2 separate regions of the Homo sapiens genome follow, and region 2 is linked to region 1. Evidence: promoter capture Hi-C in 16 types of primary human blood cells and fetal thymus (Javierre and others, 2016). All regions are on one chromosome and are shown on one strand. The core of a region is centred on a gene start or on the middle of the fragment in contact, and the rest is flanking DNA. Distances in the headings are between cores, read along the strand shown.

Evidence for each region. The method cuts DNA at HindIII sites, captures the fragments that hold promoters and counts their contacts. A CHiCAGO score of 5 or more calls a contact.
Region 2: a fragment that was not itself captured here is called in contact with the fragment with the promoter of ZNF396 in region 1 in 1 of 17 cell types (M0 macrophages); the score reaches 5.1 in M0 macrophages.

The regions. Positions count from the first base shown.
Region 1 is chr18:35,373,632-35,380,834 of GRCh38, forward strand. ZNF396 (zinc finger protein 396) reads right to left here and starts at 3,706. Exons shown (of 4, transcript NM_001322286.2): 1 at 3,647-3,706; 2 at 245-733. The coding sequence starts at 661. RefSeq lists silencers at 3,222-3,411, 3,422-3,491. The HindIII fragment of the contact is 6,702 bases long and covers 1-5,064 here.
Region 2 is chr18:35,642,204-35,649,406 of GRCh38, forward strand. The region is part of intron 1 of GALNT1 (polypeptide N-acetylgalactosaminyltransferase 1); the gene reads left to right. Among named protein-coding and RNA genes, the nearest start is that of MIR3975, 54 kb to the left of the region's middle. The HindIII fragment of the contact is 1,689 bases long and covers 1,917-3,605 here.

The DNA of each region.
Region 1 (7,203 bases), core at 2,456-4,955:
ACCATCAGGTTGGGACTTGAGGATAAAATAACAGAGAAGAAACTATGCAAAAAGTATCATGGACACAGGAAAAGGGAGGGAAAAAGTAGAGCCACCTTCTATTTGCTGGGACACCCATTAGTACTTTCACCCCTATACATCCAGTTGTGCTGAGTGGGAATACAGTTTGAGAGCTCTACTCCCAATGATGTGCCAGTGCTCTTGACTCAGCCTGGGGGTTCATCTCCACAGGCATCCTTCTTACCTGCTTTGGTCCATCAAGCTCTCTCTCCACATCCTCCAGCATAGTCACAGTTTCCTCTCCATTCTCTGGATGATGCTTCTGCACCCAGGCCTGAAGCTCTTTTGGGAGGATGGCCAGGAACTGCTCCAGCACCAGCAGCTCCAGGATCTGCTCCTTGGTGTGCACTTCCGGCCTCAGCCAGAGATGACAAAGTTCCCAGAGCCGGCTCAGAGCCTCATGGGGCCCAGGTGAATCCTGGTAGCCAAACTGCCTGAATTGCTGGCGGAAGGTCTCTGGGCTGTAGCTGCTGCTCCAGTGGAGGCTAGAGTCTGGATCACAGGTCTGCTCTTCCTCTTCCATCTTCTCTGTCAGAATCCCATTACACTCCTCTGAAGTTTGTGTTAGGAGTGATGATGACTTTCCCAATTTTGCAGACATTTTGACAGACAAATAGCTCAGTACTGTTAGGCTTTAATCCTCAAGGAGGTGAAGCTGTCCTGATGGACACTCCTTAAATATGATTAAAGAAACAAGTGGAAAGAAGACAAAAGACAAATGCTTCTTAGAACAAAACAACTAAGATTAGAAACATAAGACTGTATAGGAACTACTGACCTTAGTCTTAACAGAAACCATGCTTTTATTTATTTATTTATTTTTGAGATGGAGTCTTGCTCTGTTGCCCAGGCTGGAGTGCAATGGTGTGATCTCGGCTCACTGCAACCTCTGCCTCCTGGGTTCAAGTGATTCTCATGCTTCAGCGTCCTAAGTAGCTGGGACTACAGGTACCCGCCACCACGCCTGGCTAATTTTTGTATTTTCAGTAGAGACAGGGTTTCACCACGTTGGCCAGGCTAGTCTCGAACTCCTGACCTCAGGTGATCCACCCGCCTTGGCCTCCTGAGGTGCTGGGATTACAGGCTTGAGCCACCACGCCAGGCCCAGAAACCATGCTTTTGAAGAATACTTCTTTAAGAGAACCAAACAGCTAAGACTCATTAATTCATATGCATAAGTGATTCACAATTCATTCTGAAAACCATGCCCACAAGGCTACTGAATATTACAATAAGAGATCAGCCAGGATTGCATAGAAGCTCCCAGATAATGGAAATAAGGGAAGCCTGAGAAATGCTCTAACTCTGGAGCCAGTTCAAAGAGCCAATCGGTATTTAGTGTGCTGCAAAGAGCTCAAAGAAATAGTCTCATGAGGGAAGCACTTTTGTGTGACTTTTTTCAGCTTTTACTGTTAAAACATTACTTCGACATTAAAGGAACCATTAAAAAAAAAATAAACCAATCAGCTGGGCACTGTGCTTATGCCTGAAATCCCAGCACTTTGGGAAGCCGAGGTGGGAGATGGGAGGATCACCTGAGCCCAGGAGTTTGGGACCAGCCTGTGCAACATAATGGGACCCCATCTCTACCCCACCAAAAAAAAAAAAAAAAGAAAAAACAACAAAAAAGGCAATCACGTTCCTTCATCTGAATGTATTTCTATTTTTTTCCATATCCATATTACTTACTTAACTATTTTAAAATACTTAGGTTGTTTCTAATTTCACTATTATAATTAATGCTGGGAGGCACATCTTTATGAATATACTGTTTTTCTCCTTTCAAAGTATTTCTTTCAAGCATGTCCCAAGGCCTCTGCTTGTTGAGGATCAAAGGAGAAGAGCAAATTCTGTCTTGCTATGTATTATCAAAATATTGCACAAAGACTGTATCAATTCACAATACCATCACAATCATAGTGACTTGTGAGGGCAACGATTTCTTCAAGTATTATTAGCTCGTTAGCAACAAAGTTGGGGGGGGACGGCACTTTCCTTTGTATCATTTTACTGTTAAGTATCACCAGTAACTAATCTCATTTTGTTGTTGTTGTTGTTTTGTTTTGTTTGAGACAGAGTCTGGCCCTGTTGCCCAGGCTGGAGTACAATGGCGGGATCTTGGCTCACTGCAACCTCTGCCTTCTGGGTTCAAGCGATTCTCCTGCCTCAGCCTCCCAAGTAGCTGGGATTGCAGACGTGTACCACCACGCCCGGCTAATTTTTATAATTTTAGTAGAGACGGGGTTTCACCATGTTGGCCAGGCTGGTCTCGAACTCCTGACCTCAGGTGATCCCTCTGCCTCGGCCTCCCAAAATGCTGGGAGTACAGGCGTGAGGCTCTGCACCCGGTCTAATCATATTTTTTAAATTGGGCAGGAGGTATATGATAGTGTTTGTACAACTTCAGCAAATGATGACTACTTTAAAAATCTTACGTGCGCCTCCGTCTTCCATCGTTATGTATCCTGCCATTTGACTTATTTTCTCACTTCACCAAGTATTGTTCTAGGCCCTGTATAAAGCCTGTGAGTTCATAAAGTTGTTACCAAATAAATGATACAACTTTACACAATGATGTGCTATGAAACAAACAATAGCAGACACACATATTAACAGAATTTACTATGTGCCAAGCACTGTTTTGAACACCTTAGTAAAAATAAACAAAGGTTAAATCCTCATAAAAGCCCTAGATTATTTTTACCCCCATGTTGTAGACGGGGAAGCAGTCACAGCAAAGCCAGGTACTCTGGCCAAGGGCAAAGCTGGGGTCTGAACCCAGGCCGTCCACATTTATCCATGGTGCTGTGTGGTTAGAGGCCATAGGCAGCAGGGGCCCTTGTGGTGACCCCTGCGCGTTGTCTCAGCGCAGAGGAGGAAGTGGCGGCAGGCAGCCGCGCTCCCAGATGAAGCGGGGCCAGAAGAGTCTGGGGAACAAGACCTGAGAGGTGGGAAGGGTTGAGGCCACCGGTTTGGAGCCGTCAGGTACCCTAAGGGATATATGAGGGACCCCGGGGCTAAAGCAGCCTCTGGAAGAGAGTGGCCGCCCTGTCACTTCAGCACCAGGCGCAGAATCTGTGCTAAACCTGAGGTGAGGGTAAGGAACCCCCGACACCGCACGACAACCAGAAAGAACGTCCCTGGAGGGGAGGCTTCGATCAAAGCCTGGGACGCAGGGGTCTTTCTGCAGGGGACGCCGCTCTCGGCTCTACCCTGCTGTGGTGGGCCGGCTCTGGGAGGGCTGGCTTCCGACCATCTCCCGACCTCCCGCGCCCACCGCGCCGCGCCGCGCGCCTCCCAGGCTGGGAACCGCCGGGGCGAAGCGGCAGGTGGCGCGGGTTCACCTGGCAGGGCAGGCGCCCGGGGTCCGCCGGGGAAGGACGAGGGGAAGGGGTGCGCGGACTCAGGGGCAGGCAGCGGAGGGGAGGGGCCTGGGGATCTGGGACGGTGTAAGGGTGCTGCACTTGCGCGCGAAGGGAGGGGTGGCGACGAGTCCGCGGCCGCCTCTCCGCGTCCCCCTTCCACCACCCGGGGACCACCGCCTCTGACCGCAGCCTGGGGGCCCTAAAGAGGCCTCGGGTCTCACCTCCCGACGCCGTCGGGGAGAAACCGGGGAACTGCCAGCTGCGCAACAACTTCCGGTTCTGGTGGCGGGTCGGGGCGGGGCCCGGAACGCGGGGACGTTGCCATGGAGAAGAGCCGCTGTGGCCGCGCACTTGGGACAGGGAAAGAGAACCGGGAGGCTCGACCGGTGGGAATCCAGCTGCTCTGCTCAGTGTTCCGTTCAATAAACTAGCATTGTTGCTTCGCAAAGTGCTTTTGCTTACATTATTCATTTACTCCGGTAACTCAGTAAGGTTATTCCCATTTTACAGAAAATAAACTCAAATGTCCTGTGACTTGCCAAGGATTACAGAGAGGGGCGAATGCTGTGCTGTCTACCGCTGAGTACAATCCCTAATACCATTCCCACTCCCGAAGTGGTTACACCCCAAGTACTGACGTTTTAAGGGACAAGTTTGACATCCGCAACCCCATGCTTTCACAGGAGAACACAATGGCCCTTGAAAAAGTGAGAACTGACCCACATAAAATTTGTTACAATACATACACATATCTCTCCTCAGATAATCTTAATCTCAATTGAAAAATAAGTTTGAGGCCGGGCGCGGTGGCTCATGCCTGTAATCCCAGCACTTTGGGAGGTCGAGATGGGCAGATCACATGAGCCAAGGAGTTCGAGACCAGCCTGGCCAACATGGCTAAACCGCATCTCTACAAAACATACAGAAATTAGCCGAGTGTAGAGACGCATGCCTGTAGTCCCCGCTTCTTGGGAGGCTGAGGGGTGAGGATCACCTCAATCTGGGGAGGTGGAGACTGCAGTTAGCCATGATTGCGCCACTGCCCTCCAGCCTGGGCTGCAAAGTGAGAGCGTCTCAAAAAATAAATAAATAAATAAATTTAAGCCTAAATGCACCACAGCCCCACCTCGTGACTTCCTTCTCTAGCCCCTTTCCCTAGGGACTCCTGGAAAATGTACTTGTACTCGTAACTGAGGAATTAGGGAGAGGACGGAGATGCTTGAAAAGCACTTGCTAATTAATAAAGAACAATAACAAAAAATCCCTTTTGGTATGACGCCGCCCCAAAAGTATGTTAGTACTGGAATCTGAAGTGAAGAAAGAAGAGGCTGGTTTACTCAGTTTATGACGCTAGGGGACTAGGGAGAGGTTTGGATCCCAATTAGAGTACAGTAAAACTAAATCTGAAGAAATTCTTGCTTCAAACAAGGGGCTTTCACAGGATAAGACTTTTTGCTGATGCAGCTGCCAACACAAATAGCAAACAGCCCAAAAGTGCAGGTGGGAATGTGTTTCTGGCGCTGGTGGGTAGGGTAGGTTAAATGACTCACGTCAGGGGAGAATTTGAAACGAGGGCAAGGCTTGGCAGTGGTGTGAAGTCACAGGAGACAATTTAAGGAGAATATGAACGACAGTCAGAAGCTTCAAGGAGAAGGAGGAACTGTGGGATGTGGCAAGAGGTCAGGGATGATGAATTCATGGGTATGGTCCACCAAACAGCCAGATATCAGAGGCCAAAGTTAAAAACAGCAACAACAAAAAAGGGAGCAGACATAAAAGATTGATTAGAAAAGTTTCACAGTCAGGTAGTTAGAGCAAGAACAGGTTTTTGTTTGCTGTTTTAATTTTTTAAAAATTTTGGGGGTAAAGTGAAAAGAAATTAGCAGGAATAAGGTCCCAGTAGGGTGAGCACCTACTATATACCAGTTGTATCGTAAACACCGGGAATTCAATGGTAAAATATAGATTCTTGCCCTTTAGGGGCTAATAGACTAAGTAAAGAGAAAGATGAATAAATTGACTTTTCTAAACAATGTGGCAACATTCTGATGGAGACAACTGCAGGATACTATAAAAGCACAAAGAAAGGGAGGTCCTGGGTAGAGACTGGGATTGGAGTTGATGGAGAAAGCTGGTGTTGATACATTTGAGACTGAGGTACCAGTGTGGGATGTTGTTTAGATTTGCTGGATTAAAGGACAGCAGGATGAGTGGCTGAGGATGAGGCTGAAGAGGCAAACAGCAGCCTAGTTTTAAAGGGTTTGACAGGCCAAGTAAAGGGCTATGAACTAAGGTTTTAAGCAGAAACTTGAATTAGTGGCATGTGCACATCTGCAATTCAGGTAGGGCTCTCTGATAGCAACACGAAGGATAGATCTGAAGGGAGGCAAAACTCAAGACAGGGTTACCAGCTCTGAAGCTGTTGCAAAGATCCAGGCTGCAGCTGGTGAAGGTCTGAACTAGCACAGAGGGGACGAGAATGGAGGCAGATTCTGGAAACACTTGGGAGGCTGGTGCTTGCTTAGATGGAAGACTGACAGATGATTGGGTACATAATGTGTCATTCAGGGAAGTTAAACAACAGAGTATGTTTGACAATGGCTTATGTGGATATTTGAGGGGATTTTTGGGTAGACTGGATCAGAAGCTGAATGGGATGCTATCATCAATAACTGCACATAATTGGACATTTTGTGTGATCATGTGAAAATAAATATCAAACATGTTTTATATCTGAATGCTTCCCTTATATAGGTATGTAAAGATCTCTATGACTTTTATGAACCATTTCTAAGGCAATCACTCTACAATGACATTATAGAGACATTTATTTCTCAACTTTGTACTCTTCACCACTCCCTTCATCCCAACATATTTGCTCTCCACCTAGGTAGAAGCTTTTAGGGGCATGGATCTGTGTCTGTCTAAACACATAACCCTTGTTTTTTTTGACCCGAGGTGCATGAAGTGGATGTATTATACACAGCTGCCATGTTTCTATAGGATAAGGAATTAGAAGGTTAAGAAATTTAGGTTGGCTCAAGCATGGTGGCTCATGCCTGTAATCCTAGCACTTTGGGAGATCGAGGTAGGAGGATTGCCTGAGCCCAGTAGTTCGAGACTAGCCTGGACAACATGGCAAAACCCCATCTCCACAAAAAAATACCAAAAATTAGCTGGGCATAGTGGCATGCACCTTTGGTCTCAGCTTCTTGGGAGGCTGAGATGGGAGAATCACTTGAGCCCAGGAAGTCAAGGCTGCAGTGAGCCATGATCATTCCACTGCACTCCAACTCGGGCAACAGAATGAGACCCTGTCTCAAAAAAAAAGAAACTTAGGTTTATAAACACTGCATGTTCTCACTTATAAGTGAGAGCTAAACATTGAGTACACATGGACACAAAGAGGGGAATAATAGACATTAGGGCCTACTTGAGTGGGGGGTCGGGGTTCAAAAACTACCCACTATGCCTATTACCTGGGTGATGAGATAATATGTACACCAAACCCCCATTCAGTTAATCTGTATAACAAGCCTCCACATGTACCCCAAAACTGAAATAAAAAATTAACAAAAATAAAAACTTTAAAATTAAAAAAAAAAGAAATTTAGATTGAGCAATAAAAAGCAATTTGCCTACAATGGAACTATGGTTTCCAAGCAAGTGGTGGATGGGTTGTATGTGTAGGAGTCCAAGTGTGGGTACACACTTGTCAACCTGAAATAATAAAAGGGTCAGAATCCAGTTTTAAAGAGTTTATTCAAACAAAAAGCTG
Region 2 (7,203 bases), core at 1,511-4,010, 270 kb after region 1:
ACGGAAACCTAGAAAGAACCCAAATGTCTGTTAAGAGTAGAGAAATAGGTTTGCTAAGCCAGCGGAATACTATTCAGTAGTGAAATGGAATTGGATGCATGGATGGATCCAAGCATATGGATAAATCTCAGAAACAGTGTTAGAAAAAAGCAAGTCAGGTTTTTCCACTTATAAGCACTTCAGAAACAGTCAAGTATAAATAAGGCATTGTTAAAGATACTCGTGAGGTTAAATTATCAGGACAAGGAAGGACCGTAAGAATAGGGATTGCCTTTGAAGAGTTGGGGAAGAGATGGGATTTGAGAGGGAACTTTAAAAATCATGTTCTTATTGTTAAACCAGGTGGTGGAGATGTGTGTTGTGTTGTGATCATTTATTTCCGTGACATGTTTTATACGTACTCTTTTGATATTTTATAAGTTTTTGTGATCTGGGGCATTAAAAAGTATCTTTTCAAATAGTATAGTCTGTCTCATAATATATAATTATGACCCACAGAGTGGAAGCTCATCAGCAGACTAGAAGCTGCTTTTTACCTATTGCCCCCTCTTCCCTGGTTCCCCAAGCATTCTGGTTGTGTCAGGAACCCAATTCAGATTTTCTTAAGCAGAAAAGGGGACTAATAGGATTCCTCGTTGGGTCACTGAAGCCAAGGAAGAGTCAGGGACTTGGTCACTGTCAGGGTGCTCTGCCACTCATCTGTATGTCTCTGCTTGGCCACATTGTTTTTGGCTGCAAGTGGCCTTCTCCATGTCGGGGGCAGTGTGACTGAGCGCAGTCCTAGAGCACAGCCTTCCAGGTCTGTGACTCAGGCCAAGGAGTCAGGTCCTGTGGTCAGCCTGGCTAGGTCATACTGTGGCCAGGCAACTGGATCTGTTACCAGAAGAAACCTTTTGAGGAGGGGAGGAGAGGTTAAGGGTCAGAATCATGAGCCCGGCAGCCACTTCTGTTTGTAATGGTTACATATGTATTAATTGTAAAGCAATATGTGTGGCATTTTGTCACACCTTTGTGTGGATATCAGGGCTGTTTTGATGTTAACGCTAAGATGTTGCCTAAGACATGGCACTGAGACATGGCCGAGGTGGGAAGAGGGGTTAGAAATGTCTGTTGAGCATATTATTACCTGTTAAAAATAAAAATACAGCATGATCAGCTCTCCTACCACTTTATAGTCACACCTGTCTCCTTCCCTTCTTCCCATAAGGACATTTAAGGCATTAAGTACTTGAGTCTAAATAGATGTTACAAACTTGGTTTAAAACATAACACATATCTGGCTGGGCACGGTGGCTCACGCCTGTAATCCCAACACTTTGGGAGGCCGAGGCAGGCAGATCACGAGGTCAGGAGATCGAGACCATCCTGGCTACCACAGTGAAACCCCATCTCTACAAATTCAAAAAATGAGCAGGGCGTGGTGGCAGGCACCTGTAGTCCCAGCTACTCGGGAGGCTGATGGCAGGCACCTGTAGTCCCAGCTACTCGGGAGGCTGAGGCAGGAGAATGGCGTGAACCGGGGAGGTGGAGCTTGCAGTGAGCCGAGATCGTGCCACTACACTCCAGCCTGGGCAACAGAGTGAGACTGACTCAAAAAAAAAAAAAGAAAAAAAAACACATATCTACTATTCTGAATGACTGGAAGGGCATTTAACCCATTGGTGTTTCATTGGGATGCAAATTTGTAGGGAGTTTGTATCTTTTGCTTTTCTGTTTGCCAGGTTCTTTGTTTTGAACATACATTACTTTACAAACAGGAAAAATATAAACTTTTAAAGGTATTGGTGGAAGTCAGTTTGTCATCTTAAAAACTGACATTCCACTCAAGACACTAAACACTGTATTCTCTAATTTGAAACATTCGAGCCAATAAATTTTATAGGAGTTTATTTACATCATGACTACCCCAAATGATAAGCTTGTTCTTCTGACCTCTAAACTTGAGATAACACCCGGGAAATAACTACAGAAAGAGAATATCCAGGTTTTAATGGAATGTGGACATCAATCTGGGCAGGAATTTTGGATTGATTATTTGCTAATTTTTTGTTAAATACTTATGTTGAATAAGAAGATTCCAAGACCTGAAAATTGGTTCTCCTTTTTCTTTGGCTATCGAATAAGGCTTCTCAGTGCTAAATTTCGATCAGTAACCACTTGACAGCTCAAAAACTGTGGCAGAAGTATTGGCCTGAACACTTTATAGGAAGCTGGGAATATAAATTGAAGCCTACGAGACTGGAGCCGTACTCACTTTGGCTACTAGGGGTAAGCCAGAATAGCTGCTACTTGGTTTTGACAATTTTGGCTTCAGTTATCTTTCTACATATTCACTTTTATATTGCTATAAGGTAGGATCCAAGTTTATTTTTTAATTATATGGAAAGCCACTTGTCCCTGCACCAATTTTCTTTGTAGTAGCATCTTTTTAGTTTTTCACACTTGTATGGATTTGTTTTGGGTTACCATATGGTTTTAAGTACGTCTGCTTTATAATTCAGTCCAGGCCAGGCGTGGTGACTCACACCAGTAATCCCAGCACTTTGGGAGGCTGAGGCGGGCGTATCACTTCAGGTGACGCGTTTGAGACCAGCCTGGTCAACATGATGAAACCTCTTCTCTACTAAAAATACAAAAATTAGCTAGGCATGGTGGCATGCACCTGTAGACCCAGCTACTTGGGAGGCTAAGGCAGGATAATTGCTTGAACCCAGGTGGCAAAGGTTGCAGTGAGCCAGGATCACACCACTGCACTCCGGCCTGGGTGACAGAGCAAGACTCTGTCTCAAAATAAATAAATAAGTAAATGAATAAATAAATAAATAAATCCATTCCCCAAAGCCTCATTTGGGTTTTGATAAGAATTATATTGAATTTATAGATTAATTTTGGGAATAACCTTGTATTCATTTTCTCATCTATTCATTAGTTAGTTATTCTTTTGTATCCTTCAATAAAGCTCCACAGTTTTCTTCACCTCTTGCACCTGTTGGGTTTTCATAGCTATTTTGAATGTTTTTTTTTTTTTTTTTTTTTTTTTTCTGGGAGATGGAGTCTCGCTCTGTTGCCCAGGCTGGAGTGCAGTGGCGCAATCTCAGCTCACTGCAAGTTCTGCCTCCCAGGTCACACCATTCTCCTGCCTCAGCCTCCTTCCCAAGTAGCTGAGACTACAGGCGCCCGCCACCATGCCCGGCTAATTTTTTGTATTTTTAGTAGAGACGGGGTTTCACCGTGTTAGCCAGGATGGTCTCGATCTCCTGACCTCCTGATCCGCCCGTGGCCTCCCAAAGTGCTGGGATTATAGGCGTGAGCTGCCGCACCTGGCCGGTTTATTTTATATATTCTAAATAGTTATAACTACCATATAGGAGCACGACTGATGTTATATGTTCATCTGTAGTCATCTGCCTTATGAAATCAATAATTAGCTCTAATGGTTTATCTTTTGATTCTTAAATAATTTCTATGTAGAAATCATACCATCTGCAGATGATAATTTTGTTTTTTTCCCCCTAATCCTTAATTCATTTTCTTATCTGTTGCTTGGACCTTCAGTACAGTGTCAGACTGAAGTGAGGATACATAACTTGCCTTATTTTAACTGAAGCTTCATCATTAAATATGATGTTTATTGTAGATTAAAGAATTCCCTTTCTAGTTCTAGTTTGCTGTTGAAGTTTTCGGTTGCTGAGTAATGAATTACCTAAAAATTTAATGGCTTTAAGCAATGAAGTTATTATCTCATATTTTCTTTGGGTCAGGAATGGAAGAGCAGTGTATTAGTTCATTTTTACACTGCTATGAAGAACTACCTGAGACTCGATAATTTATGAAGAAAAGGGGCTTAATTGACTCACAGTTCCACGGGCTTACCAGGAAGCATGACTAGGAGGCCTCAGGAAACTTACAATCATGGCAGAAGGTGAAGGGGAAGCAAGCATGTCTTACCATGGAGGAGCAGGAGAGAGAAAGAGGTGGGGGAAGTGCCACACATTTGTAAACCATCAGATCTCCTAAGAACTCACTCACTATCCCGAGAACAGCAAGGGGGAAATCTGCCCCCATGATCCTTTTACCTCCCACCAGGTCCCTTCCCCAATACTGGGGATTACCATTCAACATGAGATTTGGGTGGGGACACCGAGCCAAACTATATCAAGCATCTTAGCAGGATATTGGCTCAGGATCTTTCATGAGGTTGTACTCAAGATGTCAGCTGGAGCTGCCGTCATCTGAAGGCTTGCCTGGGGCTGCTTTCAAGGGGGTCTCACTTTCATGCCTGGCAGCATAATGTTGGTTGTAAGCAGGAGGCTTCAGTTTCTTACTATGTGGACCTCTGCATAGGAATGCTTAAGCATCCTTCTGACATGGCACTGGCCTTCCCCAGAGTGTGATCAGAGAGAGTGCTGGGGGAGGCCATAGAGTGTTTAATGACTCAGTCTTCACTTCCATCATATTCTGTTGGTTAGAAGCAAGTCACTAAGTCCAGCCCACACTCTAGGAGGAAGTTAAATGATACAAAAAGTATTTTGTGTGTTTCTTTTAGTCTGTCTGCCCTACAGAGTAGCATAAGTCAAGGGCTTCTGTCTGGATATCTTTACCTCAGGCCTCTCCTTTGAGCCCTGTGTATATCCAAGCAGCCATGGTAGCATCTCTCATTGAAGGTTCAAAGGCACCTCATACTCAACATGTCCCAAATCACACTTAACGTTTCTTCCCATCTTCTCCTCCCCTCCAAAAATTGGTCCTTTTTCACTGGTCCCCATTTCCATGATTGACACCTTTCTCTGTCCAGCTGTACAAGCTAGGATTGAGTTTGTCCCATCGTATCTCTTGTATCTTCCCACTTTTATCATCTCCAGCTTCATCTCACATCACAGTTTCCTTTTCTTTTTCTTCAGTTCACTAGCTTTTCAGTGTTGGGCTCCTTTCTGCTGTAGAGCCTTTACTATTCACTGCCTGTAATGCTTATTTTCCCTCAAACCATGTCTTTCTTAGGGAAGCCTTTTTGACAAAGTCAAATCTATTATAGATGTGTGTAGAGCTGTGTACCTTCTTTCAAAGCAGTTATCACAATTGGAATTTCACATTTATATGATTATTAACGTCTGCTTCCCTGGAGCCAACTCTGAACTTCATAAAGTCAGGGAGTGTGTGCATTTTGTTCACCCTTGTATTCCCTGCATTTGACACATTCCCTACATTTACTGTTTGGGTGACTGAATGAGTTAATAAGTGAATTAATACATTGATTATAGTTCTGTTTGAGAAATAGAGCAAATAGAATATAAAATTAATAAAATAATCTAGGCTCTTTTATTTGTATTGGAGGATAACACTTGTCTTTTTTAAGTCTTTTAGTTTTCTTGGCAGAAACTCTAGCTGTTAATTAAATAAATAGATTTGTCGAAGGTTCTCATATGTAATACCTCTGTCTGGTTAGTATGATGTAAAACTAGTGATCCTGGCTGTGGGTGGCTGGGAGACTGCTGTGTTCTCAGGAGAGAGGAGTAAAGCTAGGATCCAAGAGAATGAAGCTTTGTTTTCTCAGAAAGTTACTATCCAGCTGAGATTCTCTCAAACTTTCTGGAGAGCTTTGGTTAGAAATATGAGGGGTAGGAGAAAATCATTTGGCCGTAGAAAATACTGATTAATCTTTGGGAAAATTTGGCATGTGATATTAAGAATAGGATCAGGGTTAGGCGTGGTGGTGCGTGCCTGTAATCCCAGCAGTTTGGGAGGCCGTGGTGGGTGGATCACTTGAGACCAGGAATTCAAGACCAGCCTGGGTACAAAGTGAGAACCTGTCAAAAACAAAAAGAGAAGAAGAAGAAGAAGAAGAAGAAGGAAGGGAGGAAGTGAGGAAGGGAGGAAGTGAGGAAGGGTGGAAGGGAGGGAGGAAAGGAGGGAAGGAAAGAGGGAGGGAAGGAAGGAAGGGAGGGAGGGAGGGAGAGAGGATTGGATCAGAAGTTTACTGATATGCAAATGGGCCCTGACTTAAGATTTTTTGACTTTGTGAGAGTGTAAAACCATCACAATTTATGTGTAAGTATGGTATTCAGTAAATTGCATAAGATATTCAACACTTTATTGTAAAATAAGCTTTGTGTTAGATGATTTTGCACAACTATATGCTAATGCAAGTGTTCTGAGCACATTTAAGGTAGGCTAGGCTAAGCTATAATGTTCTGTTGGTTAGTTGTATTAAAGGCATTTTCGACTTTCGACTTAAGATGTTTTCAACTTATGATGGGTTTATTGGTACATTACCCCATCATAAGTCGAGAAGCATCTGTAATTAATCACTATACTTTGATATTAACTCTAATTTTATAACTTTAAAAATAAGTAGTTAAATGCATTTCAAATGGAAGGTTTTAACTTATGTGGTTGGGACAAAATAAGCAACTTTTAGTTACTTCCAAAATGAATTCTGGTATGTGTCTTTTGAGAAAACATAAAACAGTTTCTCTCTTTGTAAAACTGGCATTGTTTCTTTGAGGTATCCTCTCCCCCATGTTTGTTTATTTTTAAGTTGATTGAGATTGAATTTATATACAGTAAAATTCATCATTTTAGGTTCAGTTGTATAAGTTTATACAGTGGACACAGTTGTATGACCCCCAGCCCAAGAAAGTTATGGAATGTTTTCATTGCCACAGATTCATTTATGGGCAATCCCCTATTCCTTTTTCAGCCCTTGGCAGCCGCTGATCTGATTTATTGCTGGTTGCTGGGTGGTGTTTCATTGTATAAATATAGTGCAATTTGTTTATCCATTCATCAGATGATTGACATTTGGATTGTTTCCAGATATTGATGATTATAAGTAGGCTGCTATAAAGATGTGCATACAGGGCTGTGTGCAGATATGTTTTCCTTTCTCCTGAATAAATAGGAACGGGATTACAGATTCTTGTGGGGAGAAACTCCCCTGTTTTCCAGAGAGGCTGTACCATTTTGCATTCCCACTGGCACCGTATTAGAGTTCCAGTTGCTCCAATTCCTTTCCAGCACTTGTTGTTTTTCTTTTTTCTTTTAGCTGTTTTAATCAGTTCATAGTGGTGTTTCATTGTGGTTTTAATTTAATGTTGAATTTCTTTTCATGTACTCATTTGCCATCTGAAAAAAGTGTTTGGCTTTTTTGGTAAAGTGACAATTCAGACCTTCTGCCTATTTTATTGGATTGTTTGTTTTCTTACT